2 separate regions of the Homo sapiens genome follow, and region 1 is linked to region 2. Evidence: promoter capture Hi-C in human tissues and cell types (Jung and others, 2019). All regions are on one chromosome and are shown on one strand. Each heading gives the region's core, a stretch centred on a gene start or on the middle of the fragment in contact. The rest is flanking DNA. Distances are from core to core; before and after follow the strand shown.

The links. Contacts are between HindIII fragments. The study calls those that stand out against the background at their distance.
Region 1: a contact is called between a fragment that was not itself captured here and the fragment with the promoter of STRA6 in region 2, in 2 of the 25 tissues and cell types used here (H1 embryonic stem cells and pancreas).

Annotation. Positions count from the first base shown.
Region 1 is chr15:74,270,873-74,274,988 of GRCh38, reverse strand. CCDC33 (coiled-coil domain containing 33) reads right to left here. Exons shown (of 19, transcript NM_025055.5): 6 at 3,195-3,286; 7 at 2,098-2,218. Among named protein-coding and RNA genes, the nearest start is that of CCDC33, 37 kb to the right of the region's middle. The HindIII fragment of the contact is 5,899 bases long and covers 1-4,116 here.
Region 2 is chr15:74,199,723-74,204,339 of GRCh38, reverse strand. STRA6 (signaling receptor and transporter of retinol STRA6) reads left to right here and starts at 1,553. Exons shown (of 19, transcript NM_022369.4): 1 at 1,553-1,627; 2 at 2,058-2,185. The coding sequence starts at 2,073. It also overlaps a transcript of CCDC33 not described here. RefSeq lists enhancers at 648-1,281, 1,223-1,392, 3,692-3,751, 3,185-3,818, 3,819-4,454. The HindIII fragment of the contact is 11,640 bases long and covers 1-2,883 here.

The DNA of each region.
Region 1 (4,116 bases), core at 558-3,057, 70 kb before region 2:
CCCACCCCTCCTTACCACAGCAGCCTGCTCCTGTTCTCTCACTGCTGCACCTGGGCACCTCTGTGCCAGCTGCCAGCAAATTCCCAACCTGGCCCAGCTGCCATGGGGTTGGGTGATGTTCAACAGGTGTCCTGCCATTGCTGGACCGGGTCCCACACATGCAAAAGGCACTGGGAACAAGTCTCTGTAGTGAGTGGCACCTCTCCTACCCAGACTAGTTAGGCAGCAAAGGCAGCCAGAGAAAGCCTGGGGGTGGGAGGGGGCACACTCATTAAAGCAGGCAGTGCCTCTTGCCCCTTGGGACAGCCTGCTGATTGGTTCTTAATTTTCTGGGCAAATGCAGGGCCATGTGTGAGGTAACTCTAGGGAAATCAGGCAAAGGATTGGTTTGGGTTTGAAGCCTCTGTCCCCAGGGTCCCCCTTTGTCCCACTCCTCCCCACCACCATCACTCTACCCCATGTCTGAGCCTTCTTCAAATGTCTTTGCCTTTAAATGAAGCCTGGGCTCCAAAGGGGTGTCTTGTTCTATTTTTGCTATGCCAGACATAAGCACTGGTGGGCAGACAATAGGAGGGACCTCCAAAAATCCCTCTGTCCCCCAAGGCCCCTAGGAATGTTGGGACCATCGTGTAGGGCAAGCTGGCAGTGAAGCGCAGATCATGAGAAGAGACCAATCTGGCTATTCCCCTGAACCCAGCCATGTTCTGTGCGTGCACCCGCCCCCAACCTCATACTCAAACACACAGCCCTCCTGTCTGCCCTGACATGGGTCATAGCCTGCCTGTCTCCACCTCACACTTGTGCTATTGCTGTGTCCAACCTGTACCAACCCTTCCTCTGTTAAAAATTCAAGACTGCCGGCTGAGTGCAGTGGCTCATGCCTGTAATTCCAGCACTTTGGGAGGCCGAGGTGGACAGGTCACAAGGTCAGGAGTTTGAGACCAGCCTGGCCAACATGGTGAAACTCCATCTCTACTGAAAATACAAAAATTAGCCGGGCATGGTGGCGGGTGCCAGTAATCCCAGCTACCTGGGAGGCTGAGGCAGGAGAATTGCTTGAACCTGGGAGGCGGAGGTTGCTAGTGAGCCAAGATGGTGCCACTGCACTCCAGCCTGGGCAACAAGAGCAAGACTCTGTCTCAAAAAAAAAAAAAAAAATTCAAGACTGCCTTCCCTAATCCAGGCTTTACATCCCTCTCCTCTGATTAAAAAAAATTTTTCGCTGGGCGCAGTGACTCATGCCTGTAATCCCAGCCTTTTGGGAGGCCAAAGCGGGTGGATCACCTGAGGTCAGGAGTTCGAGACCAGCCTGGCCGACATGGTGAAACCCTGTCTCTACTAAAAGGATAAAAATTAGCCAGGCATGGTGGCATGTGCCTATAAGCCCAGCTACTCGAGAGGCTGAGGCAGGAGAATTGCTTGAACCCGGGAGGCAGAGGTTGCAGTGAGCCAAGACTGCGCCACTGCACTCCAGCCTGGGAGACAAGAGCGAGGCTCTGTCTCAAAAAAAATTTTTTTACTGGGTTAAAATATACGTAACACAACATTCACCATTGTAGCCATTTTTAATGTACAGTTCGGTAATGTTAAATGCATTCATTTGTTCGTATTGTTGTGTAACCATCACCACTATCTATTTCCAGGACTTTTCATCACTTGAAACGGAAACTAGGTACTTATGACCTGTAACTCCCCATTCTTCCCTTTCCCCAGCCCCTGTAGCCACTGTTCTACATTCTGACTCTGAATTTTCCTATTCTAGGTATCCCATATAAGTGGAATCATATATTTGTCCTTTTGTATCTTCTCCTCTGATGTGATAGCCCTGACAGGCCCTCCCAGTTTGTTATTAGATTATACATTATCTTGTGTTGATGTTCAACTTTTTCACCCACGTGACTCCCATCTTCACCAGACCAAGAGTTCCTGGAGGGCAGTTTCTCTGCCGCACAGGCGAGCACAGCACTGGGTATGCCGTGGGATTCAGTCAACTCTTACTCGATAGTCAAGGGAACTGCTGACTGACTCACTGAGTGAGTGAACAGTGAATGTGTGGGGTAGTTACAGGAAGCTGGAACCACTGGGGAGGAGACATACCTGAGGGCATCCGTTCTGGCTGACGCGAGGCACGTCAAAGTTCATCATGGACGGGATAGGGAAGGACAGTGGGGTGATGGGCAGCCCCACAGAGGCCAGGTCCCTGTTAGCCTGGCTGACCCTGGGGAGGCAGGGAGACAGGGTCAGTGCTCTGGGCTCTGCACCTGAGCCTGGCAGCCCAGGGCCCCCCGCTTAGACTCTGGGTTGATGCAAGAGAAGGGAGTTGCAGGGATCCCGCCGAGTTCGGGCCTGGACCTCACGACAAGTGGGGACCACTGGGCTGGGCGTGCATCAATCATCTTCCTTCCTCCAACAAGCAAGGGGGCTTCATAAGTCATAAAAACTCAACAGGAGATACAGAGAAGTAGGGGAGTCATCTTGGGCCATCAGGGCCAGTTGGAAGTGACCAAGACAGACCCTGACTCCCAGGAGTCGGTGCTGTGGCAGAGAGCACACGTTCATAGGGGAATTTCCCACTGTGTGGCAAAGTATGAATCTCCTCTTGAGGACTGTGACTCCAACAGACTCAAAAGGAGGTCTAGGGGAGGAGGGGATGAGTTGTGGCTGGGACCAGGGAGACCTCCAGGATGAGGAGGGAGGAGACTCCGCCCGGCAGGGCTAAAGGCTGTGAAGTTCCAAGATGGCCTTTGGGGCCAACCACTGGCTGGAGCCTGTGGCCCTGAGCTAGAGTGGGAGGGGGAGTGGGGAGGTGGTGGGTGTGAGGCAGGGAGGCAGGTTGGAGGGGCTGAGGTTCCCTGAGCAGGGAATGAGGACCCCTCTTGTTGTCCTCCCCACACTCTCTAGCTGTTAGGCCTGGTATCGGCACTCATCCCCACCACCTGCCCTCCAGCTTGCTCTCAGGAGAGGACTGAGCTGCCCCTTTCCAGGGGCCTGGGCTCTCCCTGGGGAAAGAAAGGCATGGTCTGCTGCAGGAAGCTTACTGGGACCTCAGACCCAATGGAGAGGCTTGAAGGGCCTTAGGGGTAGAGGGGTTGCCGGAGGTCCTGGAATCAGCCCATGGCAGCAATGACAGCCTCACCCCCTCCTCTGCCCTCTGCTCTGCCCTCCTCACCCAGGTCCACCTGGGCCCCACTCACTTAAATTCCTTGTAGTTGGGAACGACCCGGGCAATCACCACTATGGGGTTGGGGTTGTTGGCCAGGGGCTCGTTGACTCCCCGGAGAAAGATCTGGAGAGGAGAGGAGAGGAGGCAGGTGAACACCATGTGGCCTTGGGACCTTCCAGAGACAGCCAGCCAGACTGCCTACCCTCTTTTTCCCCATCCGTGAGCTCATGGCTGCCTCCACACTTGACACCTGCTTCTCCCTGTTCCCTGCCTTACTCGGTTCTTGCTTTGCACCAGGCTGCCCTCCCTCAGGAAGCCTTCTCTGCCGAGCTGAGGCAACTGCTCCCGCTTTCTGTCCTGGGATTTACCAATGGATCTCTTACACTAGTTTCTTTGGGGAGAAAGGGTACGATGAGAGTTGGGTCCTGGGAAGGGAGGTTGTGTTCTAACCTCGGCCCCTCCACTGGCTCCTGGGGAGGGGTTGGGCTAGGGGTAGGGCTAGGTGTTCCAGCTCCTTGGTTTCTGTCAGTCAAATGAGGCTCCTCCCAGGGCTGTGAGGGGTCTCTGATTAGATCGTTTGTGAGAGAGCACTTTATAAACTGAAGACAGGAAGCCCAGGTCTGGTTTCTCCGACCATGCTGAACTTCCTGAGATCAGCGGCCACAGCCAGGCTCCCCTTGCCTCCCTCGTGCCCATCACCCTGGTGCCTGCTCCACTGCTCACCCTGGTGCCTGCTCTCCTGCCTTGCTGGTTTCCCCAGGAAGTACTGGTTTGGAACAGGATCATAGCATCCGCATCTCTGGGCTCCTCTTTCTTCATCAGATCCCGGTTGTCACTCCCCTGACCGCCCTTGGTTGTTCCCTCCTCAGTCCTCTGTCACCCCCTAAAGGCTTCCCTGCCTCCCAGTCCTGACTGCCCTCTCCTCTACTCCAGGCTTCTATTGGCGCAGCTTT
Region 2 (4,617 bases), core at 304-2,803:
TTTCTGAAGTCCCTCTTACCCAAGGGCCAGGCGCTGAGCATCAGGGGAAGGCAGGAGGAGGGGTGGGAGGGATAGAGTCCCGCCCTCCGGGAGCTCACACTCGCGCCTGGAAGGCAAGTTTCCCGCATCCCTGGGATCAGAAGGGCCAGTGTGGGCTCCTCATTACATCAAATAAAGCTCGGGTTCAGCTCTGAGTCAGCAGATGCTGATATCTCTGTGGGATGGTGGAGAGCAACAGAGCCCTCTTCCTGCAAGAAGGGCCATTTGGGAAGAAGGGGGAGGAACTCAGGCTAGCAGGGTGCTCAGCCCCTAATCCTGCCCTGCAGGCTTGGGAATTTGAAAGAGAGCCTCCAGGATTTCAAGCCCTGTCTACTCTGAGACTTCACCCGTGCTGTTTCCTCTGTGGGGAACACACTTTCCCCCACCCCCATCCCCATCCTGAGCCTGCCACCCTCTGCTCAGCGGACTTTCCCCTGCCCTTCAGATCACCACGGAAAGGTTCTTTTCTTCAGGAATCTCCCCCCATCCCCAAATGCTCTTGGACTAAATTTGGTTTCCCATGGTACAGACCAGCTCAACCTGTGATTCCCTTTGTAACCCTCAGACTTTGGAGGGGATTTAGTTATCTGGCTGTGTCCCCGCTGAACTGTCATCTCTCCTGCCTCAGGGCTCAGAACAGTGCTGGCACATAGTGTGTGTTCAATAAATTTAAGTTAAAAGACTAAATGAATAATGTCTTCTTAAAAAAGCTGTTGAATGACTGCCTTAGCTGACAGGGTCCAAGCCGAAGCCCCTTGTAGGGTATTGGAAGGACAGAGACCCTCACAGTTTTAGGGGCCTAAACCTCCACCAGGGACAGTGGCCTGAGAACTGCTTTCTACCTTCTTCTGCCTCTCGCCCCTTCCTCCAGGCTGGGGCAGGGTCCTGCTCCTGGGGAGGGAGAATGCGGAGGAGCCCTCCTCCCTGGCCCAGACCTTCCCTTGCTCACCCTCAACCTCACTCCAGGAGGAGCAGGAGGCAGGCGGGGCTCCTCTTGCCTACCCGTGGGTCTGGTTTGTGTTTAAAGAGCTAATTTCCGCCTTGTGGGGGTGAGTTATCTCCTTGTGAAATCAACTTGTAGGAACAAAAAGGGTTTACCAATGAGACACATGTTGCCTCCTTCATGGAAACCCTAGGAGAAGAAACGGACAGATTCCCCTTCCCTGCCTCCGCCCCAGCCCAGCCCCAGCGGTCCGTCTCACTCGGTTGTTGCTGTAATGCTGGTCTCCTGTCTGTGTGCGGCACTGCAGATGTGGCGGGCAGGGGCTTGGGAGCTCTGGGGCAGGCGCTGAAGGCAGGTATGTGTGTGAAGTCAGGTGCGGGGGTGGGGGTGGCTCCTGGCCACACCCTTGCAGGGCTCAGGCCGCCAATGGTGCTGGGGCCTCCTCCCCCAGGAGGGGGGCTTTGTCAAGGATTATGGTGTATTTCCATCACCGAGGCCCAAAGGGGCCAGAAAGGGGCAGGCTGAGGCTGGGGGAGGGGCTCAAGGGAGCCCAGCTGGGAGGGCCCAGGCAGGCAGTGCGGAGCTGGCCGTGGGCTGCCTACCCTTTCATCTCTGCAACTCCTTCCTCCCTGGGCCTCCCTTCTGGTGTGTCTGTGGGTCTGTCTAGGTGGGCTTGGGAAAGGGGAAGGAAGGGGCGTCTCTTTAGGCAGCTCAGACTGGACAAGCCTTCTTTGAAAATGGTCCTTTGAACACACGCCTGCTGGTGGTTGGTCAGACAGATGCGCCAGCGGGAGCCCCGGGGCCCCAAGGGGACAGCTATCTCTGCAGGACCAGTGCGATGGGCGGGAAGGGAGGAGGGGACACGAGAGGCCCTGTCCTCTTCCCGTGCCAGCTTGCTCAGGCCCTCAGTCCCAGACGGGCTTTTCCCAGAGAGCTAAAAGTAAGAAAGTAACCTTCAGGATTAAAGAGAAATGTTTCTTTGTTTGGGTTTTCCGTCTTTCTTTCTTTTTTTTTCTCTTTTAAGCCTCTTTTCACATCTGTAGTGGCTTTTTTTTTCTCTCGCCTGGGGTCAAAGGAGAAGGGCCAGAGAATGTCGTCCCAGCCAGCAGGGAACCAGACCTCCCCCGGGGCCACAGAGGACTACTCCTATGGCAGCTGGTACATCGATGAGCCCCAGGGGGGCGAGGAGCTCCAGCCAGAGGGGTAAGTGTGGAACCACCCCACCTCACTCTGTCAGCCATCAGAATGGGGTGATGGCAGAGGTTGCAACTGGCCAGGGAGCAGCTCCTGGGCAGGGGCTGCTAGGTCTGGCTCTGCCACTCATTTGCTGTGTGACCTTGGGCAAGTCACAGCCTCTCTGGGGTTCATTCAGTCTCTGCCTCTGTTACATGAGAACAACATCCCTCACCCTGCTGTTAAGACACCTAAGGCTGGTCACCTTAGGTATGATGTGTGACGTGTTAAAAATACAGATGATTCAGATCTGCAGGGATGGCTCCCTGGGTGATTCTGGCCCATAGCCAGGATGGAGAAGCTGCTGAGAGCAGTTGAGGCAAGCAGACCTCCCTTCAAGGGGTTATTGGTCTCTGTGGTGAGCATTTGGGTGTGGTGTTTCCAAGTGTCAAGTTCTCTGGGCAGGCTGGGGGATTCGGGGAAGGCAGAGAACCAAAGGGAGAAAGCCTGGTGAGAAGTCACTGAGGAAACAAGCACCCTTGTTGTCTTTGGATGGTCTCAGAGGATGAGGAGAGCCTATTCCCTTTAGCAGAAGTGCTCAGGCCAGCCCAGGTGAGGGTGGGAGCAGGAAGGCAGCCCGCCCCAGGGTGGCCTGAGAACCCAGCCACAGCTGCTTTGCCTGGGTCCATTCTACCGGGGTTTAGTCTGGGCACCCTGGTGGAGGAGCTGGGCCCCTTCTGTGTCCCCCACCTCCTGCCAGGATGTCTTGCCTGTGTAGGACCCAGAGCCAGTTCTCCCCTGTTGTTCCCAGGCCTGGCCCCATCCCTTATCTCCCTGCTCTGTCTGACGGTTTGGAGAAGTAGAAAGGTGAGGCTGGGGGTTGCCGAGCCAGATGTGTGCACATCTGTTCTCCATCAAAACCTGAAACTTGAGAAGGAAAAATCCTTGCGTGCCTCCCCAGGGGCTGGGGCTGCGGCCTGGCTGGGCTTGGGTCATCCAGCAGGGACAGAGGCTCCACCCAGGCCTCGGGGAAGGAGCTGTTGTTTGGAGGACTCAGGGTTCTGACCACCTGGAAAATAGCCTGCAGTCAGCAAGGGCGTGCTCCCCACTCATCTTGCCTGACTGACCGAGAGCCTGTGGGCTCCACATATCCTGCTGTGTATGTGTGGCCTGCGAGAGACCAGAATGAGGACAGGCCCAGGAACCCATGAGGATGGTTTCTGACCTAGGTGAAGGCTCTAATCTGAAGCTGTGTCCTTGGGAGCCTCAGGGCCTGGGCACTGGCTGGGGGCCAGGTGCCTGTAAATGTAGCTGTGGTCTATAGCTGTTGTCTCAGAATAAAGTTGTGTGTATGTCAGGCACTGGGTGATGGGGAGTCCAGTCCCTCATGTGGGTGACATCTAGAAGATTCAGCTTCTTTCTCCCACTGCAGGGCATGACATCCATAAGAATAAAGAGATTTGTTTGAATCTACTTACTTAGCCAAACCAATTGAGCTGCCTGCCATCCCCCTGCCCTCAAAGTGGGAGCAGAAAATTGGGAGCTCAGGGGAATCCCAAGGAAATGAACTTGGGTTCACCTCTGTCTGTGTGAGTCAGACACCCTGGGGACATGTTGCATCAGAGCTTTGAAGAACTCCGGAGTGCCCAGTGCCCCAGCACTCTCAGGCTGGAGTTGGGGTGGATGAACACTGATGGCAGTGGAGTCAGCCACAGAAATGTCCTAAAATCCAGAACATTCAATGGCTCAAACACCCTCAGTGGCTTCCTGGGGCCTCCCATGCTTGCTGTAACCTCATCTCACCTGACCTCTGGGCTGCAATCAAACTGGAAGGCCTGCCCAGCCCCAGCCACGCTGCCTGTCGCCTGCCTCTCTGCTTCCTCATGCACTTCCCTCCACCTGGAGCTGCCTCTCCCCTTCTTTGCCTAAAGAGATGCTAACCAACTTTTATTTATTTATTTTTTGAGATGGAGTCTCGCTCTTGTTGCCCGGGTTGGAGTGCAGTGGTGCGATCTTGGCTCACTGCAACCTCCGCTTCCCCAGTTCAAGTGATTCTCCTGCCTCAGCCTCCCGAGTAGCTGGGATTACAGGTGCGTGCCACCACGCCCAGCTAATTTTTTTTGTATTTTTAGTGGAGACAGGGTTTCATCATGTTGGCCAGGCTGGTCTCAAACTCTTGACCTTGGTTGATCTGCCTGCCTCAGTCTCCCAAAGTGCTGGGATTATAGGCGTGAGCCACTGCTCCCAGCCACTAACCATTTTTTAAACTCCAATCAGATACCACCTCCTTTTGCCCAAAGTTCTCCCTCCTCTGCATCCTTCAGCACCTGCTGTGCCTGTCCCAGGATCAAGCTCACCACCCTCTCCAAGGTCTTTATGTCTGTGCCATCCTGCCTGTCCCATGGCACAAAAAGTGGGGCCACAAGCCACTAGCCAAATATTTGCTCATTTCTATGCCACCT